Linked DNA regions of Homo sapiens: all the other regions are linked to region 7. Evidence: promoter capture Hi-C in 16 types of primary human blood cells and fetal thymus (Javierre and others, 2016). All regions are on one chromosome and are shown on one strand. The core of a region is centred on a gene start or on the middle of the fragment in contact, and the rest is flanking DNA. Distances in the headings are between cores, read along the strand shown. Region 1 overlaps HIPK2 (homeodomain interacting protein kinase 2). Region 2 overlaps SLC37A3 (solute carrier family 37 member 3). Region 3 overlaps HIPK2 (homeodomain interacting protein kinase 2). Region 4 overlaps SLC37A3 (solute carrier family 37 member 3). Region 5 has its middle 75 kb from the start of SLC37A3. Region 6 overlaps HIPK2 (homeodomain interacting protein kinase 2). Region 7 holds the start of PARP12 (poly(ADP-ribose) polymerase family member 12).

What was found. The method cuts DNA at HindIII sites, captures the fragments that hold promoters and counts their contacts. A CHiCAGO score of 5 or more calls a contact.
Region 1: a fragment that was not itself captured here is called in contact with the fragment with the promoter of PARP12 in region 7 in 1 of 17 cell types (neutrophils); the score reaches 5.2 in neutrophils.
Region 2: a contact is called between a fragment that was not itself captured here and the fragment with the promoter of PARP12 in region 7, in 1 of 17 cell types (neutrophils). The highest score is 6.5, in neutrophils.
Region 3: a fragment that was not itself captured here is called in contact with the fragment with the promoter of PARP12 in region 7 in 1 of 17 cell types (monocytes); the score reaches 5.5 in monocytes.
Region 4: a contact is called between a fragment that was not itself captured here and the fragment with the promoter of PARP12 in region 7, in 5 of 17 cell types (neutrophils, erythroblasts, total CD4 T cells and 2 more). The highest score is 6.5, in neutrophils.
Region 5: a contact is called between a fragment that was not itself captured here and the fragment with the promoter of PARP12 in region 7, in 6 of 17 cell types (erythroblasts, M0 macrophages, monocytes and 3 more). The highest score is 10.2, in erythroblasts.
Region 6: a fragment that was not itself captured here is called in contact with the fragment with the promoter of PARP12 in region 7 in 1 of 17 cell types (monocytes); the score reaches 5.2 in monocytes.

Annotation. Positions count from the first base shown.
Region 1 is chr7:139,720,671-139,723,746 of GRCh38, reverse strand. The region is part of intron 1 of HIPK2 (homeodomain interacting protein kinase 2); the gene reads left to right. Among named protein-coding and RNA genes, the nearest start is that of HIPK2, 56 kb to the left of the region's middle. RefSeq lists a silencer at 2,623-2,917. The HindIII fragment of the contact is 819 bases long and covers 945-1,763 here.
Region 2 is chr7:140,365,760-140,368,763 of GRCh38, reverse strand. All of the region lies in intron 4 of SLC37A3 (solute carrier family 37 member 3), which reads left to right. Among named protein-coding and RNA genes, the nearest start is that of SLC37A3, 31 kb to the left of the region's middle. RefSeq lists enhancers at 14-513, 514-1,015. The HindIII fragment of the contact is 2,962 bases long and covers 26-2,987 here.
Region 3 is chr7:139,660,929-139,664,009 of GRCh38, reverse strand. All of the region lies in intron 2 of HIPK2 (homeodomain interacting protein kinase 2), which reads left to right. Among named protein-coding and RNA genes, the nearest start is that of HIPK2, 120 kb to the left of the region's middle. The HindIII fragment of the contact is 1,384 bases long and covers 818-2,201 here.
Region 4 is chr7:140,347,100-140,349,981 of GRCh38, reverse strand. It overlaps SLC37A3 (solute carrier family 37 member 3), which reads left to right. Exons shown (of 15, transcript NM_207113.3): 10 at 1,215-1,356. Among named protein-coding and RNA genes, the nearest start is that of SLC37A3, 50 kb to the left of the region's middle. The HindIII fragment of the contact is 5,560 bases long and covers 1-2,882 here.
Region 5 is chr7:140,321,801-140,324,964 of GRCh38, reverse strand. No RefSeq gene overlaps it. Among named protein-coding and RNA genes, the nearest start is that of SLC37A3, 75 kb to the left of the region's middle. The HindIII fragment of the contact is 3,208 bases long and covers 1-2,985 here.
Region 6 is chr7:139,764,637-139,767,620 of GRCh38, reverse strand. All of the region lies in intron 1 of HIPK2 (homeodomain interacting protein kinase 2), which reads left to right. Among named protein-coding and RNA genes, the nearest start is that of HIPK2, 12 kb to the left of the region's middle. The HindIII fragment of the contact is 1,634 bases long and covers 530-2,163 here.
Region 7 is chr7:140,061,689-140,064,722 of GRCh38, reverse strand. It overlaps PARP12 (poly(ADP-ribose) polymerase family member 12), which reads left to right and starts at 1,772. Exons shown (of 12, transcript NM_022750.4): 1 at 1,772-2,201. The coding sequence starts at 1,876. RefSeq lists an enhancer at 1,625-1,834 and a silencer at 1,845-2,164. The HindIII fragment of the contact is 6,136 bases long and covers 1-3,034 here.

The DNA.
Region 1 (3,076 bases), core at 105-2,604, 340 kb after region 7:
GAAATTGAATTCAATTTATTTTTTTTTATTGTAGTTGAACCCTCACTCATCCTTGTAGTCTGATCTTCCAGTAGATAATTTATTTAGGGGTGGTGAAATGGAAAGGAAATGTTACTCAGATATGAAGCAACTTTTCAGTTCATCTAATTGTGAAATATAAAGTTATGAAGAAACTAAGTAAATAGTGGGGGGAAAATATGCTAAATGAGCCAGTCCCTTAACAAATGTCATTTTTTAAAAAACTGTGTGAGTTGGCTGGGTGCAGTGGCTCACGCCTGTAATCCCAGCACTTTGGGAAGCCGAGGCAGGTGGATCACCTGAGGTCAAGAGTTCGAGACCAGCCTGGCCAACATGCTGAAACCCCATCTCTACTAAAAATACAAATATTAGCTGGGCGTGGTGGCGCACGTCTATAATCCCAGCTACTTGGGAGGCTGAGGCAGGAGATTCGCTTGAACTCGAGAGGCAGAGGTTGTGGTGAGCCAAGATTGCAGCATTGCACTCCAGCCTGGGTGACAAGAGTGAAACTCTGTCTCAAAAAAAAAAAAAAAAGAAGAAAGAAAAAAACCGTAACTGTGTGAGTTAAGACTTCAAGAAATCATGAAGATTTTTAGATATTCTTATTATTACATTATTTGTAGCCCCAGACCAATGAATTTCTCATTAAACCATTAAGACAAAGAGAAACCAAAAGGTGCATAGAATTACATAGGTTTGAAGCCGGGCATGGTGTTATGCTCCTATAGTCCTAGCTACTTGGGAAGCTGAGGCAGGAGAATCATGTGAGCCCAGGAGTTCGAGGCTGCAATGAGCTATGATTGCACCACTGCACTCCAACCTGGGCAACAGAGAGTGAGATCCTGTCCCAAAAAAAAAAAAGAATTTAGATCTAGGTTTGAACTTCTGGGGTCAGGGTCTGATTTTTTTCACTTATCACAGAAGCTTAAACCCATCACATGACTTCCCAGTTTTCAAAGTAGGACCTTTGTGAGAATGAAAGTAGGGAGGGTGCTCTGAATAATTGAATTGGCCTAACAGGGTAAGCATACGTCCAACCGGCAGTAGGACGTATGCTTACCCTGTCCATAAAACATCTGTCCTGGAGCCTGCTGTGTACTTAGTACTCAAGATTTTAAAACCTGGAGACTCATAAGTGTTTTAAGAATCCTGAGGAATAGCAGATGAAGTCAAGTCTAGCATTTTATAGACATAAATGGCATCTATAATTAAGGCTAGAAGGCAGATGTTTTAAAAATAGTATTTTGAAATGCAGACTTGCATACATGCTTTTTATAAATGCAAAATGAGAATTTCAATAAAGTAACTAAAAGAAGGGTCAGAACCCTCATTGCCTTTAGCATATCAAAGTGCACCCTAAGTCTGGGTAACCTGGATTTGTTTCGGCATGAGAGACTTTGTCAGCTTTATGGTAATAAGGAATAATGTCTTACAAATAGTGGACTTTAATTCTTCTAACTATAGCATATATTTTAATGTCAGTTTTATAGGTGCTATTTTTCATTTGTCATATGCAATGAAGAGTTTATTATATATAGTTGTGTAATAGAAGTTGTTTTAAATTTTAATAAATTTGTTCTTCAGTGCTTTTTACTTATCACTTCTGTAGCAACCACATGAACTCGTGTCTGTGTAATTAACAAGCATGTAAGAACCCCATGCATATCTGAGATTCAGTGTTTATGACTTCAGCCTGTTTATGAGACAGAGTGGTATGGTAATAGGCATGCTACTTGTTAAAAGCTTTAGTTCTAGGTTATGGTGACTCCCTGTCCTTTAGTGAATGAAAATGTGGCCATTTTGACAGGTTTTATCTTGGGAGGCCACTAAGGCTTTTGTGGAAAAGTCTGGGTCAGGTCATTCCTGTAGGAGCAGGTGTGGTTATGGCAGATTTATCCTACCGTGACCTCCTGGGTTCCTCTTACTGCTCCCCATGGGCTCGAAACTTGCCCTCCCAAGTCCAGTAGTCCCCCTGGTCTCTCACCTAGAAGGAGTAAAATCCGCCTTCTCTTTCAAGAGCCAACTAGGAAGTGCAGAGATAACTTAAAAAGCAGTTGAGATTTTGCCATTGGATCAAACTGACAATGTGCATTAAGCCTCTGTTTTTCCTGAAAAGGATATTGACAAATGAGGCGGGAAGTAGCCTTGACTAGTCCAGAGGTCAATACAGAAAGAAATGAGAGGAGACATTTAGCTTTTACTTTCAAGTGGAAAAAAACATTGAGTCCCCCTCTGCACCCCCACTTTATTGTCCCTCACTTTAGGATCTGAATAAATAGAGAAGTAATACGTTGTGGGCTCAACTCTCTGAAAGCTAAACTAATAGGGAAGGTTTGTTCCAGAGAAATACTCTCAAGGAGAAATGTTTGGAAATAAGTGTGTTGCCATAAGATTATTTTAAGATTAAGCTACAAAACCACCAGCAGTGTCTTATTCCTTATGAAGGTATTTCAGGGATTTAAAAAAGTATTACTGTTAAAGACTTTAACTATATCTTGTTGGAGCATTTTGCTGCCTGAAGCAAAGTGGCCTCTGCTACAGAACAAAGGTAACACGTCTGCACTGAGCGTTGGGTCCAGTCATTGGAATAGCGGCTGTTGACTTCATAAAGGGGCAGCAGGGGCCACACCAGGCCAGGCCGGAGTCTGAGGCAGCCGGCTGTGGTGCAGGGTGTTTCCAGCCATGTAGGCCTCCTGTCTGATCCTGGGCATCTGTCATCAGAGGCAGCCAGTGATGATTTCCACAATTTTATGACCCTTGGCTGTCATCCCAATAACAAATAAGTCATAAGCCACCCTCTTCCCCTCTGTAAAATTCCACTTCTGCACCGTGGACGGCCTTTCCACCAAGATCTTTTTGAAACAGTGAAAACAGAGACTAGCACCTCACCTTCTTTATGTATGAACAGCGTATTTCTGCTGTCGCTCTCTCTGACCGCCCCCTTCCGGGTACTTAAAGACTGAAAAATAAGCAGCAGGCTTGACACGAAAGGATGAAGGAAATGGCTGTTTTGCTTTGACTCTTCAGTGGCTAAGTTACTGAAAGCCAAGTAATTGGT
Region 2 (3,004 bases), core at 257-2,756, 300 kb before region 7:
GGGGAGACTGGGGAGATAGAAAGCTTTGATGACTCGCTTTTGGATGCATTACATTTGACCTCTGCTGCCCAGATGATGAAGAGCAGACACTTGGTCATTGAGTGTGGAGTTCAAGGTGTAGGTTCAGTCTGAAGATACATGTTTTTGGAGTCCTTGGCCTTTATTATTATTATTATGTTTTTAATTTTTTATTTTTGAGACAGAGTTTTGCACTTGTCGCCCAGGCTGGAGTGCAATGGCACAATCTTGGCTCACCACAACCTCCACCTCTCGGGTTCAAGCAATTCTCCTGCCTCAGCCTCCTGAGTAGCTGGGATTGCAGGCATGCGCCACCACGCCCGGCTAATTTTGTGTTTTTTTAGTAGAGACCGAGTTTCTCCATGTTGGTCAGGCTGATCTGGAACACCCAACCTCAGACGATCCGCTTGCCTCGGCCTCCCAAAGTGCTGGGATTACAGGCGTGAGCCACTGCGCTCGGAGTCCTTGGCCTTTAGATGATTTATAGATCAAAACTGTGAGGCTGCGTGAATTGATCAAGAGAACAGGCGAGGGCGGGGAAGAGGTGTGAAACCTGAGCCCTAGGGCTTCCAGTCCTCAGAGGTGGGTGAGGAATGGGCCAGGTAGCGGGGGTGGAGTGGTAAGAAAGGTGGGGCTGGGCGCGGTGGCCCACGCCTGTAATCCTAGCACTTTGGGAGACCGAGGCAGGTGGATAACTTGGGGTCAGGAGTTTGAGACCATCCTGGCCAGCATGAAGAAACCCCATTTCCAATAAAAATACAAAAATTAGCCAGATGTGGGTGCCTGTAGTCCCAGCTACTTGGGAGGCTGAGGCAGAAGAATTGCTTGAACCCGGGAGGAGGAGGTTGCAGTGAGCCGAGATTGCGTCACTGCACTCCAGCCTGGATGACAAAATGAGACTCCATCTCAAAAAAAAAAAAAAAAAGGAAGGTGGGATCCTGGAGAGGTAGCACCCTGGGAGACATTCCACGGTGGCGAGGAGTAATTCAGCGTCAGGATAGGCAGCTGGCGTCTCTGTCTGGCTGTAGGAACAGCTGTGGTGGATGCCACATTAGAGTTCTGGAGCTGATGGTGGCAGCAGCTGGAACGTGGACTGTGAGAGGAGCCTTCCTTTTCTCCCCAGCATATAAGATGCTGTCTTTAAGTATGCCTTATTTCTGTCTTTAAGTGTGCCTTATTAAAAACGCCTTTTAATTCTCAATGTCCAGGCAATGTGAAATACTGGGTAAAAGTTCTGAAGTAGTTTCTAAATGTTTATTTGGTTAGTTATTTTTATTTATTTATTTAATTTTATTGTATTATTATTTTTTGAGACGGAGTCTTGCTCTCTTGCCCAGGCTGGAGTGCAATGGTGCTATCTCAGCTCACTGCAACCTCCGCCTCCTAGTTCCAGTGATTCTCCTGCCTCAGCTTCCTGGGTAGCTGGGATTACAGGTGCACACCATCATGCCCAGCTAATGTTTGTATTTTTAGTAGAGATGGGGTTTCATCGTGTTGGCCAGGCTGGTCTCAAACTCCTGTCCTCAGTTGATCCACTTACCGCTGCCTTCCAAAGTGCTGGGATTACAGGCGTTAGCTACCATGCCTGGCCTATTTTTTTTTTTATTTGAGATGGAGTCTTGCTGTGTTGCCCAGGCTGGAGTGCAGTGGCACAATCTTGGCTCACTGCAACCTCTGCCCCCTGGGTTCAAGCAATTCTGCTGCTTCAGCCTCCTGAGTAGCTGGGACTGCAGACATGTGCCACCATGCCCTGCTAATTTTTTTTGTATTTTTAGTAGAGATGGGGTTTCACCGTGTTGGTCAGACTGGTCTCAAACTCCTGACCTCAAATGATCCGCCCACCTCGGCCTTCCAAAGTGCTGGGATTACAGGTGTGAGCCACTGCGCCCAGCCTATTTGGTTAATTATTAAGAGTATCTTTTCTTCAAAGAGGAAACAGAGAAACAGTTGGAACAGTTCTTTGGTCATTCATTTAGTCTACCTCCTCACCTTGGGTATTTTCTGTATAAAATCCCCATGTAGAGGCACGGGGCTTTGGCTGGAGCTGGTGACAGGGTGCTCGCTTCTCTTCGAGCCACTCATTTCTTTCAGGGACCAGTTTAAGAGGCAGTGTAGTCTAACTAGCTGTGTTAAACTTGGTTGCGAAGTAGAATTTAACCTTTTTTTGGTGTTTAGTTTCCTCATCTATGGAGTCATCTATAGGACTAGATTTAGGACATAAAGGATCAATGCCATGAAAAATCAATGGTCATGGTTTTTTTTTTATCTTGAGCTGCACTTCCTTCTGTAACTTATGGGCATTTTGCTTTCTGCAGCAAAACAGAATGTATTGATTCTGGTGGGGCACGGTGGCTCACGCCTGTAATCCCAGTACTTTGGGAGGCCAAGGAGGGCAGATCACCTGAGGTCAGGAGTTTGAGACCAGCCTGGCCAACATGGCAGAACCCCATCTCTACTGAAAATACAAAAATTAGCCAGGCAAATTCAGTTAGGACCAGGTGTTTCTAATAAATTGACTTATCTCTAAAACTTGGCTGGGCGTGGTGTCTGACGCCTATAATCCTAGCACTTTGGGAGTGGGGAGAATTGCTTGAGGCCAATACTTCAAGACCAAACTGGCCAACATAGCAAGAACCCATCTCTAAAAAAACAAAAATTGGCAGGCCTGTAGTCCCAGCTACTCGGGAGGCTACGGCAGGAGAATTGCTCGAACCTAGGAGACAGAGGCTGCAGTGAGCCAAGATCACATCATTGCATTCCAGCCTGGATGACAGAGTGAGACTCTGTCTCAAAAAAAAAAAAAAAAAAAAAAAAAAAAAAAAAAAAGCATGTATTGTTCTGTCATCTGAAGCAGAATTGAGATTTTCTTCATCCCTTTTGTTCTGTGTAGCATAAGTCCATATGAGGGGCAGCTAGACAACATAGAATCTACTTTAAGGCTGACATGCTTCTCTTAAGATGAGGAAGCTTGATGATAATGAGGGAG
Region 3 (3,081 bases), core at 260-2,759, 400 kb after region 7:
CCTTGAAGAATGGCCCCTTGGCCCAGGCCTCTGGGGTTTGATCCCTGGTCACCCTGTATGTGGACACTGGCTTGGCAGAAGTCGAGGACAAGAATATTTCTGAGAGCTGGTGAAGGAAGACTCGTGGGCCGGCATTATGGGTGGGCTTCGGGAAAGCAGGAGATAGAATTGAGGAAGTTCCTGGCTAGTTCCTTCTCCTTGCTCAGTCTGTCTCCAGCTTCAAAGGTCAGCACTGTGGAGAGTGCTAAAGTCTCAAGGTTAAATTTTACCCCAGAGTCTAATTGAATTTAACTTTTACATTTTGTTTGTTTGTTTCTAATGTCTCAAAAGCCTGTTTTACCCAAAGCTATTTACAGTTGCCGTTGGGTTGGGATCCCTAACGTAGATGAATAGCTTTGTTTCAGGTCTGCCCTGCCTGGAGCCCCTCCTTCCCACCAGTTACCTTTATGGTTACATATGGTTTGGCATAGAATACCAGTAAAATACCAGTAGACACAGCTGAGGTGCTCTTTTTTGTTTCTGAAGGATTTTCAGTATAGTGTCATATCCGAACGTCAGGACAGTGGAGGAAGCCCACGAGGCCTCCAGCTCATCAGTGGCAGAGCCAGCATTCAGGGCCCCTGTGACTCTCCAGCTGCATTGCACTGCTGCCCCTGAGCTGTAAACCCGCTTCCTAGTTAGGAAGAAAGCTGAATTAGGTGATCTCCAGTCCAGCCTTCCAAGTAAGGCTTCTGTGAATCCATGGCTGTAAGCATTTGAATGAATGTCGTATAAAGAAGGTGAAGGTCAGTGGAGACCAGAACTGGGAGGAGAAGCTTCATGGTGGAGGGGACTTGAAGTGCACTCTGAAAGGCCAGTGGGCATGAGAAGGGCAGGATGCAGGGAGAGTTCCTGGGCTGAGGGAAGTGTGAGCAGGAATTAGTGTCGAAGGTCATGGACAGAAAGGAGCTGGCCTGAAACCCAGTCAGAGGCCATGGTGGCCAGTGGGAAGGTGGGGTCTGATGATGGAGAGCCCTGATAGTCAGAGACAGGACTTGGATAGTGTCAGGAATGTCTGAACAGCAGGGCAACATGAAGAAAGTGGCATTTTAGGCCAGGCACGATGGCTCATGCCTGTAATCCCAGCACTTTGGGAGGCCGAGGCAGGCAAATCACTTGAGGTCAGGAGTTCGAGACCAGCCTGGCCAGCATGTGAAACCCCATCTTTACTAAAAATACAAAGATTAGCTGGGTGTGGTGGCGTGCACCTGTAATCCCAGCTACTTTGAAGGCTGAGGTAGGAGTAACGCTTGAACCCAGGAGGTGGAGGTTGCAGTGAGCCGAGATCACGCCACTGTGCTCCAGCCTGGGTGACAGAGCGAGACTCCGTCTCAAAAAAAAAAAAAAAAAAAAGTGGTGTTTTAGGAAACTTCGCCTGGCAGTCGTACACAGGAGAGACAGCTAGGGACAGGCTTGTACACCCCTGGTATATGGCCCGAGTGGTAAACTCAACCTGAATGTGATTGATTCCCAAGGAAATTTCTTACAGGATTTCTTTGGCAAGTGGTTTATAAGCAACGATAGAAAGACCACAGGGTACCCATGTGACCTCACTGAGGAAAAAGGCATGCCAAATGAATCCCATTTATTTTCTTCATAACATTCTCAGAGAGTTCTGGCAGGGAAATAACAGACAAATCCTTACCTTTATACAGTGCTTTCCTGCTAAAAGTACATTCTAAATTTCAACTAGGCACTTGACAAGTGTGTGAAATTCTGTGAGCAAGATGGAGAAACATAGATTGGAGAGTGGTGCCGCTGGCTGGATGTTAGCTAAGGACTATACTCAAAGAGCATGGATTAAAGAGGGCGAGGTCCCTTGTAGATGCTGCAAAAATCTATGTGAGTGAATTGAATGAAGACATAAAAGGCTTTTTAGCACGTTTGTGGGTAACACCCTTTGGAAGAATAAAGAAGATCTCAGTAGAGGTCAGAAGCCAAGCTAAACATATAACAGTTGGTGAGAATAATGTAGTCTTAGCAAGTGTATTTTAATAATCAATTAATGTGAAAAACCTGAAATAATATTAAAAGACTCTGGGAGGAGGGAAAGGCTTTGGGGGAGATAGTTATGTAAGGATGAATGGTTAGTATCAGGTGGCTGTCAAAAGGGTTAATGCAATCTTAGGAGAGTAAGAAAAGCATAGTATTTAGAGCAAGCTTGTCCAGCCTGCAGGCTGCATGCAGCCCAGGACAGCTTTGAATGTGGCTCAACACAAATTCCTAAACTTCCTTAAAACATATGAGATTTTTTTGTGTGTGTGATTTTTTTTTAACTAATCAGCTATCATTAGTGTTAGTGTATTTTATGTGTGATGCAAGACAATTCTTACTCTGATTAGCACAAGGGAGATAATGGCCCCATTGTGTTATGTTACATTTGGGACATTTTTATGTTCATTGTATTGTGGGTGGGCTGTTATACTTTTGATGTGAAGGGTAGTAGAAGGATCTGGGGATATGTTTCAGCATGGAGAAGAAAGGAGAAGACCCCAAGGTTCATGACCACTGTCTTCAAGTATGTAAAAGGTTGCCATGTTGAAGACACCACAGATGGGTAGACTTATCCTGCACTTCTCCAGTGGGCATACTTAGGGCATTCTAAGCTAGGCAGATGTTAGACTTCATGAGCAGCTCACCAGTGGAGAGCAAAACAGGTTTGGTGTACAGCTGTCAGGGATTCTGTAGAAGAGACGCTTATATTGGGTGTCGGATTGTTCTCCAGGGTTTCTAGTGTGTTAAGTATTATCCAGTGGTGTGCTGGAGCCAGTTCATACCAGCTTGCAGGAGCTGGTTGTTAAATAATGAGGATTTTTAAGGGCTAGTAGTTAAAATGTTGTTTGCTTGAAATGGGCCATGGAAGCAGTATTTATACCAAGGAAATTGGCAATAGATCAACCCCACCCCACCCCACCCCTACCCAGTGTCAGCATGCCAGCATACCACCAGTATTATCCATAATAAAAAGGTGTCTTTTAGAGGCCGGGAGTCTCTGGAATGTGGAAGAGCAGACGGGTGTGGGAACATCCACGTGCGTGTTCT
Region 4 (2,882 bases), core at 316-2,815, 290 kb before region 7:
ATTTTCCACAATTCTTTAACCCAGTGATGATATATGATATAAGAGAAATGCAGGTTGCTTTAGACCTGTTCTTATGCTATTGATTATTATCTTTTAACTGGTTTTTAAAGTACTCTGCTGGTAATAGTTTAATTTTTGAGAAAGAACTTTGTCGTGACTAAATATGGACCTCTTTTGCTGTTCCTTTGTTCTTCACAAGCTATTGTTCTCTGACATGGGCAGGGATGTAAAGGAAATCTAGTTAACTTAATTCCTTTGTCTTTGTAGCAGGCTGTCTGGTCAGAATGCACTCGTGATTGGGATTTGGCTCTCTAGGGGGTGGCTGTTGCCTGCCAGGGAAGCTGTTTTAAAACAAGTGATACCTAGGGAATAACTGGCAGCTCCAGGGAAAAGAATATACTAGCCAGACACCCTTTGAAGTCAGCCCCTCTGTCCCCCCCCCCTTTTTCCTTTGATGCTGAATGTCAGGATTTCCTGGTAGTAATGTGTTGAATATAGGAGTCTCAGCCCCACCACCATCTTCATGCAGCTGCAGCATTTTTTTCCCCTCAAGGGAGAGCCACGAGGCCGATGATGACATGTTCTTTCATTTTTGACTCGCCAGAGAGACTCTCTTCTTTGCCACCAGACCAGGGAATGTGGAGCTTTTGAAAACTAGTGTGAAAGGAATTATCATGCTGCTGCTTTTCTTAGACCGTGGAACTGTAGTGTAGTCCCTTTGCTGTCCATTGTTCACAGTGTTGCCTTGGCAAGGAGTAGAATAACCAACCCCGTTTGGCTGCTCCCAGTAAAGGCCGTGATGCTTCCTGGACTTCTTTGCCTATGGTTAACGCTGGTTAGTGGCATGAATACCATTCCTCTTTGTGTGAATAAAGAAATATGGGTATGTGCTCTGCCTTATAGGTTCAAAACACTGGCTTGCTTCTACCAGAGAACTGATAGGAGGAGAAACTGGACACAGCTAAGAAGTAGCCATAGGTGTTTTTTATTCCAAAGGCCTGCTGTACATGCCTGTCTAGAAGTTAACAGGGATGAAGAGCAGAGGGAGACTAGCTGAAGTCAGGCATGTGGGAGTTTGTAGAGATGTTTAACTGTAAAATCAGGTTCTGTTCATCCTAACTTCCTTTATTTTGTTTTGCTTTTAAATGACATTAAAAATGGTAGTCGTGCTGTGCTATTTGTCCCTCGCTGATAGTTGAATGCTTTTCTTGTAGTACTCACTGGCCTACGCCTGCTTGAAGTTAGTGAATTACTCCTTCTTCTTCTGGCTCCCCTTTTATCTGAGTAACAACTTCGGCTGGAAGGAGGCGGAAGCCGACAAGCTGTCCATTTGGTACGACGTTGGAGGGATCATAGGTATGCCGGTGATACATCTTTTCCATAATAAAGAGTTAGTCACTAGTGATCTTTTACTGGGTTGTGAAATCTGGCCTCATTTAAAGTTTTATTACTTATTCTACAGCCATTTTCCCTAAACTGTCCTACTAGTAAACAGCCAAACTCAAAAAAAAAAAAAAAAGAAAAGAAAAGAAAAGAAAAAACAAGAGGTCCATAGAAAGGAAGACCTAGCCTAAGGCAGCGCTGTGATTTATTGGACTCTTTTTTCTTAGTCCTTTGTTGATGGATCAGTTCTTTTGTCTCGGGAAGCACATGGGAATCTCTTTAAATGCAATCCTTTCATACGGCTTTCTCAGTGATATCTTAGCTCTAAAGCTAATTGTATGTCAGAGATCCAAGTTAGAATATGAACGTGTTCATTGTATCTACCTCCCACCTTCCCCACCTTCCCCAGCCTAATAAGGAAGAATACACCAGTCCCCCACTTATCTGTGGTTTCACTTTTCGAAGTTTCAGTTACTCTTAATACCGTACAATAAGATATTTTCAGAGAGACCATTCATATAACTTATGTTACAGTATATTGTTATTATTTTCTATTTTGTCGTTATTGTTAATTTCTGTGCCCAACTTATAAATTAAACTTGATCGTGGGTATGTATGTATAGAAAAAAACATAGTATGTATAGAGTTTGGTACTGTCTGTGGTTTCAGGTATCCACGGGGGTCATGGAACATATCTGCTGAGGATAAAGGGGAAATACACCTTAGTGTGTAGGTCGTCAGATCATAGAGGTAGACGTAACAGCAGGGATTAATTTTTGTGAATGTTTTACAGTTGTTTCATTATAAACAAAGATTTTAATAGTGGTTTTTTTTTTTTTTGCTGTAGCTAGAAGTATCAACAAGGAGGTAATAAGTATGAACAAGGAAGTAAGGCAGAGGAGCAGAATGTATTTTAGTGGGTATTACTTACATGGCTGTGCCAGATCTTAATAACCTTCAATAATGTTAACATTTAGAATTGTGGTGAGACTCAACTGCCGTGAGCTTGTGAAAGCACACAGTCTGTGCTAGGCAATCTGCTATTACTGTATTTGAACTTGGCTGCCCGTATTCTTAAATCCAGAGCCAAAGGTGAGGTTGCCACCGTTAGACCTCACCATATTCTGTATCCTCTGAAGTTGAAATTGTCCAGCTGCCTGCTATCTGATAAGGACACACCAGATGTCCAATAGCCCCTACAACTCAGAATGGTGCTGTATGTGACATTGTTGCTTGAAAGATTCATATCCCTGCTTTTTAAAGATTGTGTCCTATTAGCAAACCATAACTGCTAAATTTTATTTTAGTGAATATTTACTAGCCACTTTTTTTTTTCTTTTTTTTTTTTTTTGGAGATGGGGGTACTGCTCTGTCGCCCACGCTGGAGTGGCACGATCTTGGCTCACTGGAGCCACAACCTCCTGGGCTCAAGCGATCCTCCCTAAGTACCTGGGGCTACAGTCATGCACCACCACACCCAGCTAATTTTTTTGTATTTT
Region 5 (3,164 bases), core at 132-2,631, 260 kb before region 7:
CCTTGTCTTCACCAGTCTACAAAACTCTAGAAAGGTCTACATTCTAATCGTTAAAAAAAAAAAAAAAAAAACAAAAAAACAAAAAACTCCTAGTACAGTGCCTGGTAAACAGGAGGTAGAACATTACTTAATGTTTAATTTTCTCTGTTCTTGCTCTAGTGCTTCCTTAGAAAGTTCACTTTTTAATATTTCTTAAAATCTACAAATGACTACCAAATATTTAGCCCTAGCCCCAATTTGTTACTCATTTTCCAGTCTTAGGTTCCCTGGAGATCACTAGGATATCCCAATTTAATATAGCTAGTTTTCTCCAGTCCCTGCAAACCTGCCGCCTAGTGTATCGTATAGGAAATAGTATAACTTTCCTAGTGGTCTTTGTTCAGTAAGCTGCTTGAAATGATTTTGAGGAACCTTAGGAATCGAGCCATGTCTGGATTCTCATTCATGGAGTCGTTCTGATTCCTGGACCACGGGCCCTCAACTGGGCCATGATTCTCACGCTTTCTGGTTTCTCCTTAACTATCGGGGCAGCCCAGTCTTTCAATTCCCCCAGGCTCTCAGCCGCAAGGATCATTTTTGGCACATCTTTCTCTTTTCATGTAGTCAGCCTCCAGGTGTTGCTGATTCTTTCTCCTCCTCACTTTTCCAGTTCATCTTTCATTTTTGTTTCCGAGCCACCATCCTGTGCCTGGGTGACTGATAACAGCCTCATCGCTGGTGCTCCTGCTCCCAGCCTTGCCTCGCTTCACTCTGCCCTCTGCTCAACTCTTAGAATAGTCTTGTTAACGGGACTTTTGCGGTGTTATTCCGCTGCTTAGACACCGAGAGTGACTCTCTTACTTGCTGGATTAAGTGTGAGATCCTGCACGAATCCTCATCTCTAGCTATAAAATCTGAGACAGACCAGAGACCTGTTAGTAAGCAGAGGCTGCACTTTTCTTCTATGGATGTACTGTTTGCAATTAATAGTATTAAACAACTCTCATCTTTTTTTTAAAACAACTTTATTGAGATATAATTTATACATGCCGTACAAGTCATCCATTTAAAGTGCACAAAGGTTTTGGAGACATTCACAGAGCTGTGAATCACCACAATCAATCGTAGAATATTTTCATCATCCCCCCAAGAAACTCCATACCCATTAGCACTCACTCTCCATTTCCTCCACGCCCCTAACCCCTGGCATCCATCACACTTCTGTGTCTATAGATTTCAGACATTTCTTCTAAATGAAATTGAACAGCATGTGGCCTTTAGTGACTAGCTTCTTTCACATAGCATCATCGTTTCAAGGTTCATCTGTGTTGAAGCATGTATCAGTATTTCATTTCTTTTTATTGCATAAAATATTTCCATTGTATGGATATACCACATTTTTTGCATCCAGTCATCAGTTGATGGACATCGGGTTGTTTGTCTTTATTTTATGTAATTCACATACTCGAAACTCCACCCCTTTACAATGTAAAATTCATTTTTTTTTTTTTTAGTTTATTCGCAGAGTTATGTGACCATCACCACTATCTAACTTTAGGACATTTTCATCACCCCAAAAAGGAACCCTCCACCCATTAGCAGTCCACTCCACTCTCCCCACTCCCCTGCTTCTGGAAAATACTGCTTTCCATTTTGTGTGGATGGATTTTCCTCCTCTAAACATGGCATATGAATGGAAAGATGCAATGAATGGAAGAATGTCTTTTGTGACAGGCTGCTTCTACTTACATAATGTTTTCAAGGTGATTCTGTGTTTTCTTCGATTCTGTATTTGTCTATTTGGCATTCATTCATCACGGGCCTACTGGATTAACTATATTTTCTTATTTTCTATAATCTTGATGTCTTGTCATTCATGGCCTGGCTGACTGGGAGACACTGCCCCTCCCAGAGTGAGCCAGTTCTTAGAGATAAGCCCAGGCCTGGCCCAGGAGAACACCTTTCATTTGCAAACGAATCAGCGGTCTTCTTTATCAAACTCTCACACCAAGCTAATCTTCCCCTGCCCTTAATCAACCCAGCGACAGGCACCAGGCAACTAGCCGACAGCCCCTGTGCTCTAAAACCTGGCAAAATTATTTACGCAGTCAGTCCTCAACTGTTTAACCCTGACCTGTCTTGCCTTTCCTGCAGAAAACACAATAAAGTCTCTGGCCCTGGCTTTTCCCTCACCCTTCTGCCTCCTGTCCAAAATCGGTGCTTCCCCATGTGGCCCTACATGGCCTGGCTTCCCCTCCTGTCAGGGGCTGTAGGTCATAAAAGCCTTCTTTCAGTGGCATGGACCTCTGTGTAGTCACTTGGTTACCTCCATAAATTAAACTCTTGTGGGTACAATTGAGCCAAATGCTTGTTTAGGTTGCAGCATGTATCTGTTCTTCAGTACTTTTTTTTTTTTTTTTGAGATAGAGTCTTGCTCTATCACCCAGGCTGGAGTGCAGTGGCATGATATCTGCTCACTGCAACCTCCGCCTGCCGGGTTCAAGCGATTCTCCTGCCTCAGCCTCCCAAGTAGCTGGGGATACAGGCACACGCCCCACAACGCCTGGCTAATTTTTGTGTTTTTAGTAGAGACAGGGTTTCACCATGTTGGGCAGGCTGGTCTTGACCTCCTGACCTCAGGTGATCCACCCACCTCGGCCTCCCAAAGTGCTGGGATTACAGGTATGAGCCACTGCACCCAGCCTCTTCATTCCTTTTTATGGCTGGATAATATTGCGTTGTGTGGATATGCCACATTTTGTTCATTCATTCATCGGTTGATGGACATTTGTGTTTCCCCTTTTTGGCTATTTTGAATATTGCTTCTGTGAGCATTCATGTACAAGTTTTGATGTGAACGTGTTTTAAATTCTCCTGGGTAAATACCTAGTTTTGGGGCATTGCTGCATCGCATGGTGATTCTATGTTTAACATTTTGAGGAACCATCAAACTGTTTTCCAAAGTGGCTGCATCATTTTACAATCCCATCGGCAGTCTGTGAAGCTTCCAGGTTCTCTGTGTTTTCACTGACGCTTGTTATTGCTTATCTTTTAAAAATTTTAATAATCCTAATAATTTGAAGTGGTGTGTTATTGTGGTTTTGATTTGCATTTCTCTAATGATAATGATGCTGAGCATCTTTTCATGTGCTTATTGGCCATTGGAATATCTTTTTGGTGAAATA
Region 6 (2,984 bases), core at 97-2,596, 300 kb after region 7:
GTTCCTTCTGCTGGTGAAACCTGACAGAGAACCTGGTAATTCTGACAGCTGTTATGTTTTGTGGGTTTCAGCCACTGACTTCCATGGCCTCTCCTACCATCCTTCTTTGATGGCGTCTCTGCTCTCTGCTTCCACCTATTTATTTTTTCCCACTTGTCTACCCACAGAGCCAGGCTCCCTTACCTACCTGTTTATTCTTTGACTGTGTGTTCCTTGAGCGTGTATTTGCCTTGTTTTACTTGTAGGTGTGAAGGTCTAAGTGGATGTACACACAGAACCTTCTTTGGGGTGTATTTGTGTAAGGGACTGTCTGGAAGAAGTGGTTCTTCAACCTTTTTGCCCTTCAGTTCTCTGGAGGGCTTGTTACAACAGATTGCTGGGTTTCACCCCCAGAGTCTCTAATTCAGTAGGTCTGTGGTAGGCTTGAGCATTTGCATTTCCAGTTGAGGACCATTGTTTTGGAAGAGTACATTCAGAACAAAAAGTCAGAAATATTTAGAATCAGATGGTGGTTGTTTTGGTGAAAGCTTTTCTTGGATGTGAGAGAGTCAGGGACCTGGCCTTAGCATTCTTCGCAATTCTACTGCCTTTTGTGGCTGTGACTTCCAGAAGCCATAGGCACATGCAGATCCAGCCTCCGACTTCCTCTCCTCTCACCTGCCTTCACATCTTCTCAGGGAAGGTCACAAAGTGCAGGAGCCACTTTCTCTTGTTCATTCAGAGCCAGCTGGTCTGTGTAGTTCATCCAGTTTGGTCTTGGGGCCCCAGAATAAAATGGGCCAAATATCATCCTCACAATAGTAATACACTATTATTAACTAATATTTAAGAGCTCTATGATTTTCTCCATTTACAGAAGAGGAAATTGAGGCTTAGAGATATGAAATAATGTATGCAAGGACTCATAACAAGTAATTGGTAGAGCCAGAGTTTGAACCTCAGTCCACTTGTCGCCAGCGCATGCCCTTATCTTCACTGGCAGGCCACCCTGCTTCTTGCAGGTAAGTTAGAGTGATCCATGCCATGTGCAAGACTGACTCCGGTAAGAAGGATCTGGGATCCTCCTTGGAAAAGAGGCAATCAAGCTGGAGACCGAAGGTGCTAACACAGATTTCTGTGACACTCTTGTTCCATTTGTCCTGTTCATCAAACAGGGTCAAGTGAGGTGGTGAATGTACAGCACTTGGACCTGTGGCTGGCATGTAGGAATGTGGTAGAGGGCAGCCAAGCCATGAGTCCCCTTTGAGAGCAAAACATATCAAATATTCAGGAATACTCTTACTGAGACCTCTAAGGAAAAACATGTTATGGGAAGATGATCATAACAGCTAATACCGCACACTTGCTATTGCCAGTTCTGCACTAAGATTTTACATGTGTGAATTCATTGAATCCCTGTAGTAACACTCAAAAGAGGTTCCACTTCCACAGTGTTACACAGAGGCACAGGCAGGTGAGGCAGCTCCTGAGTGCAGAGATGGGATCGACTCCAGGCAGTCTGAGTCCAGAGCTGACTCCTGACCACCAGCTGCACAGTAGAGACTCTTCCTCATCCCTCCTAGATGAGAGAGGGCAACTTGTAAATACATTGGTTCTTCTCCAAGTATCAATGGTCTTTGTTTTCATCAAAATCTGGATAAGTATTTTAAAACTTGAGAGACCAATTTCTGTTGCTTTTCTTGAAAGATAAGGTGGTAGGACATAGGTTAGGCATGGACCATAAGAGTGGTGAAGGGGTTAGCTCTATCCAGTGTCAAACCATAATGCTTCAAATCTGGGACAAAATTTGACAGACCCATCCATGGGGCAGAAGGGGGGAGGCAGATTTCAGGTTCCATAGTCTGTGAGCATTTAACAGAAGATGGAGGAGGTGCTGTGAGGCCATGGGGAAAGGAAGGCTGATTACCTGAATGGGAATGGGACTATATGAGAGCAATCTGAAAAATCTCAGTGGGTATCATCACCTCACATCATTACACCAATGTAAATTCTGCCTGATTAAAATGTGAGGTTTGACAAAAATATGTTCAAAATACATTCAGTGTTCTGGGGACTCTCCTAGGTGCCAAGTGTACAGCATTGAGCAAAACAGATAAAATTCCTGCCCTGAAGCAGCTTGCGTTTTAGCAGATAAAGACAAACGTTCCACTTTTTTACAAAGCTTTTTACAAAAGCTTGAAGGAAATGGAAGTGGATATTTATTAAACCTCTGGAGGAGTTGAAATTTCTAAGATTAGAAGCTGTAGATGAACTCACAGAGGAAAATATTATTAGTCTTGTCAGCATAAACATTCCCCAAATGTTAAGGTTATTTACTATCATGAGTTATTCCTCAGTGTAATTCTATGTAACATTGAGGTTTGTCTAGATGTTAGGATAGGTCCTCCAAAGTAGATATACTAGGTCAAGGGATTTGAACATCTGTTGGGTTCTAGATACATCACCAGGTTAATTTCCTTGCCAAAGTTTAATTTTTTTTTTTTTTGAGACAGAGTCTCGCTCTGTCATCTAGACTGGAGTGTAGTGGCATGATCTCAGCTCACTGCAACCTCTGCCTCCTGGGTTCAAGAGATTCTCCTGCCTCAACTTCCTGATTAGCTGGGATTACAAGCACCCGCCACCATGCCCGGCTAATTTTTGTATTTTTAGTAGAGACAGCCTTTCACCATGTTGGCCAGGCTGGTCTCAAATTCCTGACTTCAGGTGATCCACCTGCCTCAGCCTCCCAAAGTGCTGGGATTACAGGCGTGAGCCACCACACCAAGCCTAAAGTATAATACTTTTATATTAAACAAATCAAACCACCAAGATGAAAAATTGAGTTAACCCACCTGTTTGTCTGGGTGCTGCTCTCAGGCCTGGGCCCTGCTGTCATTCTACCCCTCTCGCCAGGTGACATATCATTCCCAGGTTTTCAATGCTCCCTCTATCTGTTAGGGACTCCTAAAGTTGTATCTTTACCTAGACTTCTTTTTTCAGCTCCA
Region 7 (3,034 bases), core at 523-3,022:
TTTATACAATGAAAACATTAAAATCACAATTAAAATCCAAGAGAAAACCCTTCATTCAATTTCCTAATTAAATAAATTCATTTTCATTTGTCCATGTTACTATCTAGTCTTTATCCATACACTTATTATTTACATTTTTGTAGTAATAGTACAGGTAATTTTTTTTTTTTTTTTAAAGATGGAGTCTCACTCTGTCGCCCAGGCTGGAGTGCAGTGTCATGATCTCCGCTCACTGCAATCTCTGCCTCCCGGATTCAAGCGATTCTCCTGCCTGTCTCCCGAGTAGCTGGGATTACTGGCGCCCGTTACCACGCCCGGCTAATTTTTACGTTTTTAGCAGAGACGGGGTTTCACCACGTTGGCCAGGCTGGTCTCAAACTACTGACCTCAAGTGATCCGCCCGCCTTGACCTCCCAAAGTGCTGGGATTACAGGCGTGAGCCACTGTGCCTGGCCTATAGTTAAGATTTTTATATTCATTTTTAGTGAATGTTATACCGTATACCGTAAGTACTCTCCCCCCACAATCCTTCTGCCTCTCATCTTCCCTTTTCCATTTTCCTAATACCTCCTACTGCCTCCTCTCAACTACCCTTGTGTGTTTCTTCATCTTTCTCCGTGCTTATTCAAAAATATCCTGCCACACACACACACACAGGCTTCTCTTTTTGTTATTCAGACATTTAAAAAAATTAATTCTTGATCATTCAACTTGATTATTTAGACATTTCTGTACAGCCATCTTTTCTCGTTTACCACCACATCATGGCTGTCTGCCCCTCTACATCCGCACACGGAGCTCTAACGCATGCTTGTTAAACAGCCTTCGTAATAGTCTTTAAAGATCAACCACACTGTTCCCACGTAACCCTACCTCCCAGGTAGGGTTCCCCCAGTAACACTTTCACACATAACTTATTTACTGTTCCTTTTACTTCTGGAAGATTCCGAGAGGAAAGATTGCTGGGTCAAAGGTCACACGCGTTTTCAATTTTAATAGCTATTCCTGGATTACCTCCTCAAAGGGCTCTAACAACTCGCATTGCTCTCAGCGTGTGAGAGGGTCCTTTGCTCTGAAGGGTCTTCTAAAATATTTGTTCAATCGTTACTTAGCAGGGGCTGGGAGTAACGGATTTTATTTTATTTTATTTTATTTTTTGAGACGGAGTCTCGCTCTGTCGCCCAGGCTGGAGTGCAGTCGCGCAATCTCGGCTCACGGATTTGCTCTTTTAAAGGACATACCCTTTTATGTTTAAATGAAGGAACTCATTGATGCACCGAGGCGAAAGGAACCTTTAATTAAGTGCGTCTTCTATGCGGAGTGATCGCTTTTGTCACTTGTTCGAGGGGTGAGAGCTCCCGTCAGTTGTCCCTGTTTCTGTGAGCCGTCTACGAAGCCCGGGCTTGGCCTGGGCGACGCTGAGCGGCTTTAACCGGCGGCGTCCAGCCGGCTCCGCCAGCGCTGCCGCCGCCCTCGAGGCTCCCTCTGACTGAAGGCGCGCTGAGCATCGCGGCATTAGGGGCTCCTGGTCCCTCAAACATCCAGGGAAGCCATTTTCAGGGACTAGGTACTGACCCCCGCGAGCCGCCACAGCCACAGCCCGCGCTCCGGGCCGAACGCCCGAGCTCAAGAGCTCCCGAGCTTCCGTCGGGCGGCGGCCTCACAGCTGGGGGCCCTGAGGCGGAAGGCGCAGCCGCTCAGCTGCGGACCGGGGGCGTGGCGAGGGCGCACAGGTTCTGTTTTTCGCCGGCCCGGGGCCGCTTTCGGTTTCGTTTCCCGCCGGCGTCTCCACCCTGCGAGAGCCGCCCGCCAGCCAGCGTCCGCCGCCGTCCGCGTCGCGCCACCCGCGGTCCGACGGGAGCAGGCCCAGCGGCCATGGCCCAGGCCGGCGTCGTCGGTGAGGTCACCCAGGTGCTGTGCGCGGCCGGGGGCGCCCTGGAGTTGCCCGAGCTGCGGCGCCGCTTGCGGATGGGCTTGAGCGCCGACGCGCTGGAGCGGCTGCTGCGGCAGCGTGGGCGCTTCGTGGTGGCGGTGCGGGCGGGCGGCGCAGCCGCGGCCCCGGAGCGCGTGGTGCTGGCCGCCTCGCCGCTGCGCCTGTGTCGCGCGCACCAGGGCTCCAAGCCGGGCTGCGTGGGGCTCTGCGCGCAGCTCCACCTCTGCAGGTTCATGGTCTACGGCGCCTGCAAGTTCCTGAGAGCCGGGTAAGGCGCCGCGCCGGGAGCGACGGCGGGCGGAGGTCCTGCGCGCCCTCACGCACTTCCAGCCCGCTTGGGGGTCCTACTTGAAGTTTGAGCAGACAATTCGGTGGCTCTGCCCTGACCTCGCACCGTCATTCACTAAAGCGAGCGTTTAATGAGCACCTGCGGAGTACCTGGCACAGTGCGAGGGACTCAGGGTCGAGTGGGGTCCTCTAGACGCCTGGGGGGAGAGAGTGATTTACATAGAGCATGGTAGTGCCGGGTGGAACACCCGGGTGTGGCCGTGTGGGGTGGGGAGGGAGGGAGGCGGCGGCTTAGGGGAACTCCACGACGCCGCGGGTCGCCCCTTGCCAGCTTTGAGGCCAGACAATGAAGGTTTTCTCTGCCCAGCAGCTGGTAGAGATCTTTAAACCCAGTTCAACCCTATTAATCTGCTTACAAACTGGAAAATGCAGACTCCCTGCCATCGCCCACAAGGTCCTGGGGCACTGGTCCCTGCCCACCCAGGACCCTTCTGTGACTGGAACACCCCCCCCCCCCCGGGCATTTCTGGGAGCCTGGGCATTTCTGGGAGTCTTTGCTCTGCCTGGAATGCCCTTCTTGCTCTTGGTTGGCCCTATTTGTTAATCCTTCAGGCCTCAACCTAAAGATCACATCCCATTTGAGGATTTTTCCTCCCCTTACTCTTGGTCACAGGGAACTGTTTATTTTCCTCATGGCACCCAGCTGCCAGTAGAATAGAAACTCCCTGAGGGCAGAGGCTCCAGCTGTCTCCCCAGCACTTAGCGTCCATGTTCTGTGCATAGCATGTGGCCAGTGGGATGTGTGGAAGGGAT